Linked DNA regions of Homo sapiens: all the other regions are linked to region 2. Evidence: promoter capture Hi-C in human tissues and cell types (Jung and others, 2019). All regions are on one chromosome and are shown on one strand. Each heading gives the region's core, a stretch centred on a gene start or on the middle of the fragment in contact. The rest is flanking DNA. Distances are from core to core; before and after follow the strand shown. Region 1 has its middle 79 kb from the start of SLC10A2. Region 2 holds the start of SLC10A2 (solute carrier family 10 member 2). Region 3 has its middle 96 kb from the start of SLC10A2.

Region 1 (3,322 bases), core at 802-3,301, 78 kb before region 2:
GGTTAGAACTGAATCAATTTCCAGAGATTGGAAGAATAATTTAAAAAAAAAATTTTTATTTTAGGTTTAGGGGTACATGTGTAGGTTTGTTGTATAGGTAAACTCATGTTACGAGGATTTGTTATGCAGATTATTTCATTACCCAGGTACTAAGGCTAGTACCCAACAGTTATATTTCCTGATCCTTTCCCTCTTCCCAGCTTCCATCCTCTACTCTCCAATAGGCCTCATTGTGTACTCTTCTCCTGTATACGTCCATGTGTTCTCATCATATAGCTTCTACTTTTAAGTGAGAACATGCAGTATTTGATTTTATGTTCCTACGTTAGTTTGCTAAGGTTAATGGCCTCCATCTCCAACTGTGTTCCTGCAAAGAACATGATCTCATTCTTTTTTAATGGCTGCATAGTATTCCATGGTGTGTATGTACCACATTTTCTTTATCCAACCTACCACAATGGGCATTTTTTAATATTGAGAAAACCTTGGGAAAATGTTCAACAACAAGTAAATTTCCTTTGGACATATTCAATGTTTAAGTAATATTTTTGCCATAAGAGTCTCATAAGGTTGTATAAAAGATTGTAAGAGACTTTGAAATTTAGCGGGTGTCTTGGTCTACTCTCCATCTGAGTTTCTCTGCTTGTATTTGCCTTTGGCTAAGTGTGTTAGTCTGCTCTCACACTGCTGTAAAGAACTGCCTGAGACTGAGTAATTTATAAAGGAAAGAGGTTTAATTGACTGACAGTTGTGCAGGGCGGGGGAGGCCTCAGGAAACTTACAGTCATGGCAGAAGAGGAAGCAAACACATCCTTCTTCACTTGGCAGGAAGGAAAAGAATGAAAGATGAATGAAGGGGGAAGTCCCTTATAAAGCCATCAAATCTTCTGAGAGCTTACTATCATGAGTATAGCATGAGGGAAACTGCCTCCATGATTCATTTATCTCCCACCAGTTGCCTCCTACCACATGTGGGGATTATGGGAACTATAATTCAAGATGAGATTTGAGTGGGCACACAGCCAAACCATATCATACCGTCCCTGGCCCCTCCCAAATCTCATGCCCTCACATTTCAAAACACAATCATGCCTTTCCAACGGTCCCCCAAAGTCTTAGCTTATTCTAGCATTAACCCAAAGTCCAAGTCCAAAATCTCAGCTGAGACAAGACAGGTCCCTTCTGCCTATGAGCCTGTAAAATCAAAAGGAAGTTAGTTACTTCCTAGATACAATGGTGGTACAGGCATTGGGTAAATACACCCTTTCCAGATGGGAGAAATTGGCCAAAACAAAGGGGCTACAGGTCTGATGCAAATCCAAAATCCAATAGGGCAGTCATTAAACCTTAAAGTTCCAAAATGATCTCCTTTGACTCCATGACTCACATCCAGGTCACGCTGATGCAAGAGGGGGGCTCCCGTGACCTTGGAAAGCTCTGCCCCTGTGGCTTTGCAGGGTACAGCCTCCCTCCTGGCTGCTTTCATTGGCTAGTGTTGAGTGTCTTTGGCTTTTCCAGGTGCATGGTGCAAGCTCTTGGAGGATCTTCCATACTGGAGTCTGGAGGACAGTGGCCCTCTTCTCACAACTCCTCTAGGCAGTGCCCCAGTGGGGACTCTGTTAGGGGACTCCAATCCTACATTTCTTTTCCCCACTGCCCTAGCAGAGGTTCTCTATGAGGGCTCTGCCCCTGCAGCAGACTTCTGCCTGGACATCCAGGCATTTCTGTGTATCCGCTGAAATCTAGGCAGAGGTTCCCAAATCTCAATTCTTGACTTCTGCACACATGCAGATAAAACACCATGTGGAAGTTGCCAAGGCTTGGGGTTTGCGCCCTCTGAAGCAATAACCTGAGCTACAGCTGGGGCCGAAGCAGCTGGGATTCAGGGCACCATGTCCCAAGGCTGCACATATTCCCAAAGCTGCACAGAGCAGGGGGGCTCTGGGTCTGACTCAGGAAACCATTTTTCCCTCCTAGGCCTCCAGGCCTGTGACGGGAGGGGCTGCTGTGAAGGTCTCTGACATACCCTGGAGACATTTTCCCCATTGTCTTGGTGATTAACATTTGGCTCATCATTACTTCTGCAAATTTATGCAGCCAGCTTGAATTTCTCCCCAGAAAATGGGTTTTTCTTCTCTACTGCATCAGCTGCAAATTTTCTAAACTTGTTTGCTCTGTCACCTCTTGAATGTTTTGCTGCTTAGAAATTTATTCCACCAGATATTCGAAATCACCTCTTTCAAGTTCAAAGTTCCACAGATCTCTAGGACAGGGGCAAAAAGCCACCAGTCTCTTTGTTAAAGCATAGCAAGCGTGGCCTTTACTCCAGTTCCCAACAAGTTTCTCATCTCCACCTGAGACCACTTCAGCCTGGACTTCATTGTCCATATTACTATCAGCATTTTGGTCAAAGCCTTTCAACGAGTCTCTAGAAAGTTTCTAGCTTTCTGACATCTTCCTGTCTTCTGAACTCTCCAAGTCTCAAGGAAGCTTCCAACTTTTCCACATTTTCTTGTCTTCTTCTGAGCCCTCCAAACTGTTCCAACCTCTGCCTGTTACCCAGTTCCAAAGTTGCTTCCACATTTTCAGGTATCCTTATAGCAGCACCCCACTCTCTGCAGTATCAACTTACTATATTAGTCCATTTTCATGCTGCTATGAAGAACTGCCCAAGGCTGGGTAATTTATAAAGGAAGGAGGTTTAATTGACTCACAGTTCCACAAAGTTGGTAAGGCCTCAGGAAACTCACAATCATGGCAGTAGGAAAAGCAAACATGTTCTTCACATGATGGCAGGAAGGAAAAAAGTGAGAGATGAGCAAAGGGTAGCCCCTTATAAAATCACTAGATCTTGTGAAAACTTACTATCATGAGAATAGCACCCTCGCGATTCAATTACCTCCCACCAGTTCCCTCCCACCACATGGGGGGATTATGGGAACTACAATTCAAGTGAGATTTGGGTGGGGACACAGCCAAACCATACTACTAAGAGTCTTACAAACCTTTGGAGATGAAAGTTAACTTATAGAAACCTGATAAAGATGGAGAAAAAATTCCTTTCAAGAGAAATACAAATTGTGTTTGGTGTAATTAATTAATTAATTATTGTCCCTGTGACTATTGGCAGTTTTGCAATTTTTTTTCCTTTTTTTTCAGAGATAGGGTCTCACTCTGTCACCTAGGATGGGACTCAGTGGTGATCATAGCTCACTGAAGCTTCAAACTCTTGGGCTTAAGTGATCCTCCTGCCTTAGCCTCTTGAGTAGCTGGGACTACAGGCACCTAACAACATGCCTGGCTAATTTTATTTTCATTTTCA
Region 2 (3,086 bases), core at 145-2,644:
TAGCACCTGGATGGTTTGCAGAAGGAAATGCATACCTTTCAAGGGAAATGAGGAATTGTGAGCTAAGGAAAAAGACATTTGTCTATTCAACTTTTAGCATTAAATTTCTCAATCTAGTCACATTAATGCTTCATCTTATTTCTATTAGTTTTTTTTTCCAGTGCTAGTTCAGACTGGCACGGGATGAAATGGGCAAACATTGCAATTTAGATTACTCTGTAGGAAGTGGAGAAAACGTTTTCTGTTTATTTTGTAGTAAGGTAAGCATAATTTTAAAAAAGCTGCTATAGGCTTTTTCCCCCACTTTTAATGCCAGTAGAGGTGAAGCAAATTTACAAATTCTTCCTTAGGTTTTATACCAGGAAAATGTTTGCCCAAAGAACTGGCTATATTTGATGGAGTTGACCACTGTCTCACTACAGGTTCTAATGTTTGACAAACAGTTTTATTTTATGATTGCACCCAGAGCTCCTCATCATTACAAAGAAAGTGTATTTTGCTTTTTTTTTCCTGCTACCAACAGGATAAACCTCCTCAGCTGCAGCTTGTGGTTTGGAAAAGATTACTTTTTTAAAAAAGCTTTGAATCTTTTCCTAGAGATCAACAGCAATTATGCAACTCCCTGTTAACTGAGTTAGATTTAAAAACACAAACACAAAATATAAATCCCCCAATTCCAATAGCTAAGCAGCTGTGCTAGAAGGCACGGGAATGCATTTATTCTCTCCTGTTTGATTCCTTAGTCATACTTTAGATGCGTGGCAAATCAGTTGGACATTCAGAATGCCATAGGCTTCTGGAAGGATTACTCCAAGGTGATTGCAGTAGTTAGAGGTATAGATAATCTTACCTCAGGTCCATGTCGCCATCGACCCAATAGGCCAAGATATTGGAGGCAGTTCCTCCAGGGCAGCATCCTATAATGAGCACCACTACGGCCTGGAGCGGGAGGATGTCAAAGGCCACCGACAGGATGAATCCTGTGAGGGGCATGATTCCAAACTGACAGAGGAAGCCAACACAAATGCCCCACGGCCGCTTTATGTGCCCTAGAAATTTCTTGATTTCCACGTTGCATCCCATGGAGAACATCACCAAGGCCAACAGGATGGTCAGCACCGTACTTAGGACCACACTTAGGATGTTATTGAAATTGCTCTCAGGTACCACACAGGATGCACCAGAGCAAACTGTTGCATTGTCCACACAGCTGTTCGGATCATTCATTGCTGGGTCTGCTGCTGGAAAGGCCAAGTCCACAGAAGCGCTGGTCCCTGGGCCCTGGCTCTGCTGCTGGTTGAGTTAAGCAACGTTTACTTCTACCCCATCAAACTTTTAAACCCCTCCTAAAAATATGTCACTTGGTGTCTCTTTTGAAAGCCACCTTAGGGAAGTAATAAAAAACAATAAAGCTAGGATGTCAGTTTCAAGAGGTAGCATTACAACACAGAGCACGTTGTGAATCACAAAAGTCCAGCAAAATTATTGGTCAAGACAGAGAGTTACGATTAATCATTTATTGGCATGATAATGAACCATGCCATATAAAAAGAGCCACGTTAATGTTTAATGTCCTCGAGGGTTTGTTGGATAATTTCAGTTAAGTGACTTTTAAAATCAACTCTGAATAGTACAGAATCTTATAGGGATTGAGCCATAGGAACCATGCCATATAAAAAGAGCTGTGTTAATGTTTCATGCCATGAAGGTTTGTTGGATAATTTCAGTTAAGTGACACTTAAAATCAACTCTGAATAGTACAGAATCTTATAGGGACTGAGCCATAGGAACACATATTGTTCTCCCATTTCCCTTTCAATAGAAGGGTTTAGGGCCCTGAATAGTTGAGTGCCCTGTGCCTAATTATGTTGCAAATCAGGTGTCAGACTCTGAACTGGGACCCAGATCTCCATCCAATTTCCACTCCCAGTAGTTTTGCTACTGTATCAGTGTTTCCTGGAATTGCTTTGTAGTGTCCATAAAGTATATGGAAATTTAAGAAACTTCTAGGGTCTTGGTGCAAATCTGAGAGAGTAACATTTGGGAAGATAGAATGTTTTCTGTGTTTCCTGGTGGAAAGGAGTCTGACTTGCACAGCCACCCTCAACTACTTACACATGCAATTATGTGTGCGTTGTCATAGTAACAGAGTACTTTATAGATGGAGACAATACAATTATTTAGAGGGATGAACCTCAGAGAATTAGGTCAAAGTGACAGGATCTCTTTGTGCTTGGAGTCATAAATTGAAATTCGATTTTTTTTTTTTTGGCAGGGGGATTCCAAGAGAGATTTTTGTAAATGTCAAATAGTCGACCTCATGCTGGGCAGAACGCTGTATTTCAGTATACAGGGAAGATAAAGAAAGAGGTAGAGAAGAGATTGTCCTGTTTTCAGGAGTTTATAACCCAGTTATTGAGTTAGGACACAGAGTAATAATAAAATTGAATATTCCGATCATGATTCACAATTTGTAGGACAAATTCTAATTTATTATTCAACTTAATCATCTTAAATTAAGTAGGATTAGCACTCCCATTTTACAGATGACGACTTAAGGGTTGAGGAAATTGAGTGCTTTAGATAAGGTTAAAGGGAAATGAGAGAACAACGTGTTTTCCTATGGCTGGTATCTGGAAATACTGGAACCGAGCGTTCTGATTATGTGAAGAAAGTGGTCGGTTTGGCTTGCTGGGGATTGGAGTAATATCTTAGAACAGAGCTTCTCAAAACTCAGTGTGAACAGGATTCCCCTGGGGGCCTTGTTAAAATGCAAATTCTGATTCTGGAAGTCTAGGGAGAGTTTTCTTTCTAGCAAGCTTGTAGTTGATGGCGATGACACTGATCTGGGGTCACACTTTTAGTATCATGGCTTCAGAATAGCAGAGTGACAACAGTTGTACCCATATTGGTGACAACGGAACTTACCGGTCACAACTGAAAGCAGCTTTTGCAGAGAAACTCAATATGGGAAAATTAACCTTTTTCATAACTGGAGTAAATGTGAGCTGTGGCTAGCAGAATGGGCCACTGAGCAGAAGAGCTAATAGAGTGAAATGCCCAAACCACAGGTGGGGGTGCCTAGG
Region 3 (2,964 bases), core at 342-2,841, 96 kb before region 2:
GCCTTTATTCCATTGTATGTGGATTTTATTTGGCTACTTCAACATTGAAAAGTATTTTGAACAAAAGCGCAAGCACAAAAGAGCACATAATGTTTTCTGCACATGGTGCAATGCTTAAGAGTCTAGGTTTTGGAGCTAGACAGATGGATTCTGAGTTTTGTCTCCTCTTTGCTATGTGACCTTGTCAGATTACTTACTGTCTTCCAGCTCAGTTTATCTTCTGTAAAGTGGGTGTGATGATGATACTGGAGTCTCTTAAGATTTTACTAAAGATTAAATGAGATAATACATGTAAAGTGTCTAGCTTTTGGCCTGGTACTTACAAAATCATACAACTCACAATTAAATTTCATTTTTGCATTGTTGGTAATGTTTACATTTCATAAATAGCACCTGCTGTGATAGCACTATGGATTTTTTTGAGTACTTACAAAAGCAGGATCTAAATGAAAAGTTAGCGATAATGCAGATAAAGGATGAAATTTAAAAATGTATACTATGTATTCAAATGATGATTCAAACAAGGAAGATAGAGAGCGAAAATATAATGCTTATAATGCAATGCTGTGGGAAGCCATGGGTGGTTCAATAGATTTAAAATTTGTGCCAATGTTCAAAATGTAAAAGTGAGAGGTTGAGAAGGCTAGTGCAGTCATAAAAGCCATAAAAATTATCCTAAAATGTTATGAATAATTATAAGGAGAACCTGGTATGGCACATAGCAACTTTTTGTTGTGAATTAAATTGGGCTCTTTTAGGGAATGATGTCAAAAAGGGGCAGACAATAAACAGTATTAAAGACCACATAAGCTAGTCATGCATTACTTTTCCCAAAGCGTTCAGTGTTAGTTAAAGCTAATACTGGCACTGGTTTATCATTTAGAACATCCATGTGTACTCGAAGGCCTTGGCAAGCTTGCAAATGTGTATATGTTTGAGCCAAACGTGCTTTGAAAGACACTGGGAGCAGCATGGGTGAAAAAAAGTGAGTAGATCTGGGCCTCTGTGAGGAAACCGAGGACTAGACCATGCTTTTATCTTTTGAGATCTTTGGCAATAGAATAACCATCAGTCCTAATTGCTTAGTGTTGCCTGACGCTCTCTTTCCATTATGTGAATTTATATTTTTATCTTCTTGACTTTCAGTTGCTGATAGGTTCTCCGTGATTGACTTATTACATTCCTGTTTGGCCTACATTTACTTGGAGTACACCTGTATCATTTTGAGAGAGACCTTCTTAGTCTTGCTAAATTGAAAGCTTCATTTATTTACTTTTTTATTTTTGTCTAGAGTTGGACTGGCAAGGCCTCTGAAGTTGTGAGTTGACTTCGCCTAGGCTGCTTGTTCTTCAGTCTCAGAACATCCTTAGCCACAGGTCATCTTTAAGAGCAATTTACTTATTTCATCTTGGTGAGAAAGAGCACTTAACATGAGATGGACCCACTTGACACATAGGTGAAATATTGCGTAGCAGATCTCTAGAGCTTATACTTGCTGAGCAGCAGGTGTTCACCTTTGTAACTGTGGGAACTTTACACTTGTGGAACAGTAACTCTCTGTTTCCCTTTCTTGTAGTTTCTGGCAACTGCCATTTTACTTTCTGTTTCTATGAGTTTGACTATTTCAGATCCCCCACATAAGTGGAATCACTCAATATTCATCCTTCTATTGCCACAGAAAAACTTGCATCAACTGATGCTGACTTGGATAACCTGGGATTTTTTTTTTTTTTTTTTTTTTTTTTTTTTTGGTACTGAGTGCAATGGCTGGACTCAGTACCAAATGGCTGGAGTGCAATGGCGCAATCTCGGGTCATTGCAACTTCCGCCTCCCAGCTTCAAGTGATTCTGCTACCTCAGCCTCCCGAGTAGCTGGGATTACAGGCGCCCACCACCCCCAGCTAGTTTTTGTATTTTTAGTAGAGAAAGGGTTTCATCATGTTGGCCAGGCTGGTCTCGATCTCCTGACCTCAGGTGATCCACCCGCCTCGGCCTCCCAAAGTGCTAGGATTACAGGCATGAGCCACTGCGCCTGGCCGGATCACCTGGGATTTTAATCTTTCAGCCTAGCACAGTGCCTGGATTGCAGGAGGCATTCAACATATACTCTTTGAGAGAGGTCTTATTTAGAGTCACTGAATTAAAAGATTTATTTTGCCTGGGTGTGGTGGCTCACATCTGTAATCCCAGCACTTTGGGAGGCTGAGGCAGGCGGATCACCCAAGGTCAGGAGTTTGAGACCAGCCTGGCCAACATGGTGAAATCGTCTCCACTAAAAACACAAAAATTAGCTGGGCATGGTGGTGGGCGCCTGTAATCCCAGCTTCTCAGGAGGCTGAAGCAGGAGAATCGCTTGAACCCTGGAGTGGGAGGTTGCAGTGAGTGAAGATTACGCCACTACCCTCCAGCCTGGGAGACAGAGCGAGACTCCATCTCAAAATAAATAAATAAATAAAAGCTTTATTTATTTACTTTTTGCCAAATAATAAATTTTTGTATGCTTTGGATGCATGGAAGAAAATGATTGTGGCCAAATATACATGTTTACCATAAAATCAATTTATTGCTAAGTACTAAAGAGTAAAAAAATTACAGATGCGACAGTAATAACAGCAACATTTATCCATTGAGCCTTTCTTGCCTGCCAGCCCTGGTGCTAAGCTTCACGTTCATTTAATCCTCACAACAATCCTGGAAGGTATGTATTAGAATCTCCATTTGTAGATGAGTAGCAGTATTTTAAAGTTTGGAGAATAGCCCGGAAGGTCACAGTATTGTTGGAACTGAGCTCATGCATTGGAGATTATGGAATGATTTGATCAGTGTTACTCTGCTTCCTTCGTTGTCTCCAAGCTCTGATGGAAAAAGTTGCAGACCATCTTAGTCACTACCTGGGCAAGCTTTTCTTTTTTTTCTTTTTGTTGTTTTATTTCAATAGCTTTTGGGGTCCGTGTGTTTTTTTGT

The links. The method cuts DNA at HindIII sites, captures the fragments that hold promoters and counts their contacts. A contact is called where the count stands out against the background at its distance.
Region 1: a contact is called between a fragment that was not itself captured here and the fragment with the promoter of SLC10A2 in region 2, in 2 of the 25 tissues and cell types used here (H1 embryonic stem cells and dorsolateral prefrontal cortex).
Region 3: a contact is called between a fragment that was not itself captured here and the fragment with the promoter of SLC10A2 in region 2, in 3 of the 25 tissues and cell types used here (adrenal gland, lymphoblastoid cells and mesenchymal stem cells).

The regions. Positions count from the first base shown.
Region 1 is chr13:102,986,133-102,989,454 of GRCh38, forward strand. No RefSeq gene overlaps it. Among named protein-coding and RNA genes, the nearest start is that of SLC10A2, 79 kb to the right of the region's middle. The HindIII fragment of the contact is 3,278 bases long and covers 413-3,322 here.
Region 2 is chr13:103,065,023-103,068,108 of GRCh38, forward strand. SLC10A2 (solute carrier family 10 member 2) reads right to left here and starts at 1,395. Exons shown (of 6, transcript NM_000452.3): 1 at 851-1,395. The coding sequence starts at 1,227. The HindIII fragment of the contact is 6,207 bases long and covers 201-3,086 here.
Region 3 is chr13:102,969,234-102,972,197 of GRCh38, forward strand. No RefSeq gene overlaps it. Among named protein-coding and RNA genes, the nearest start is that of SLC10A2, 96 kb to the right of the region's middle. RefSeq lists an enhancer at 1,471-1,670. The HindIII fragment of the contact is 3,080 bases long and covers 52-2,964 here.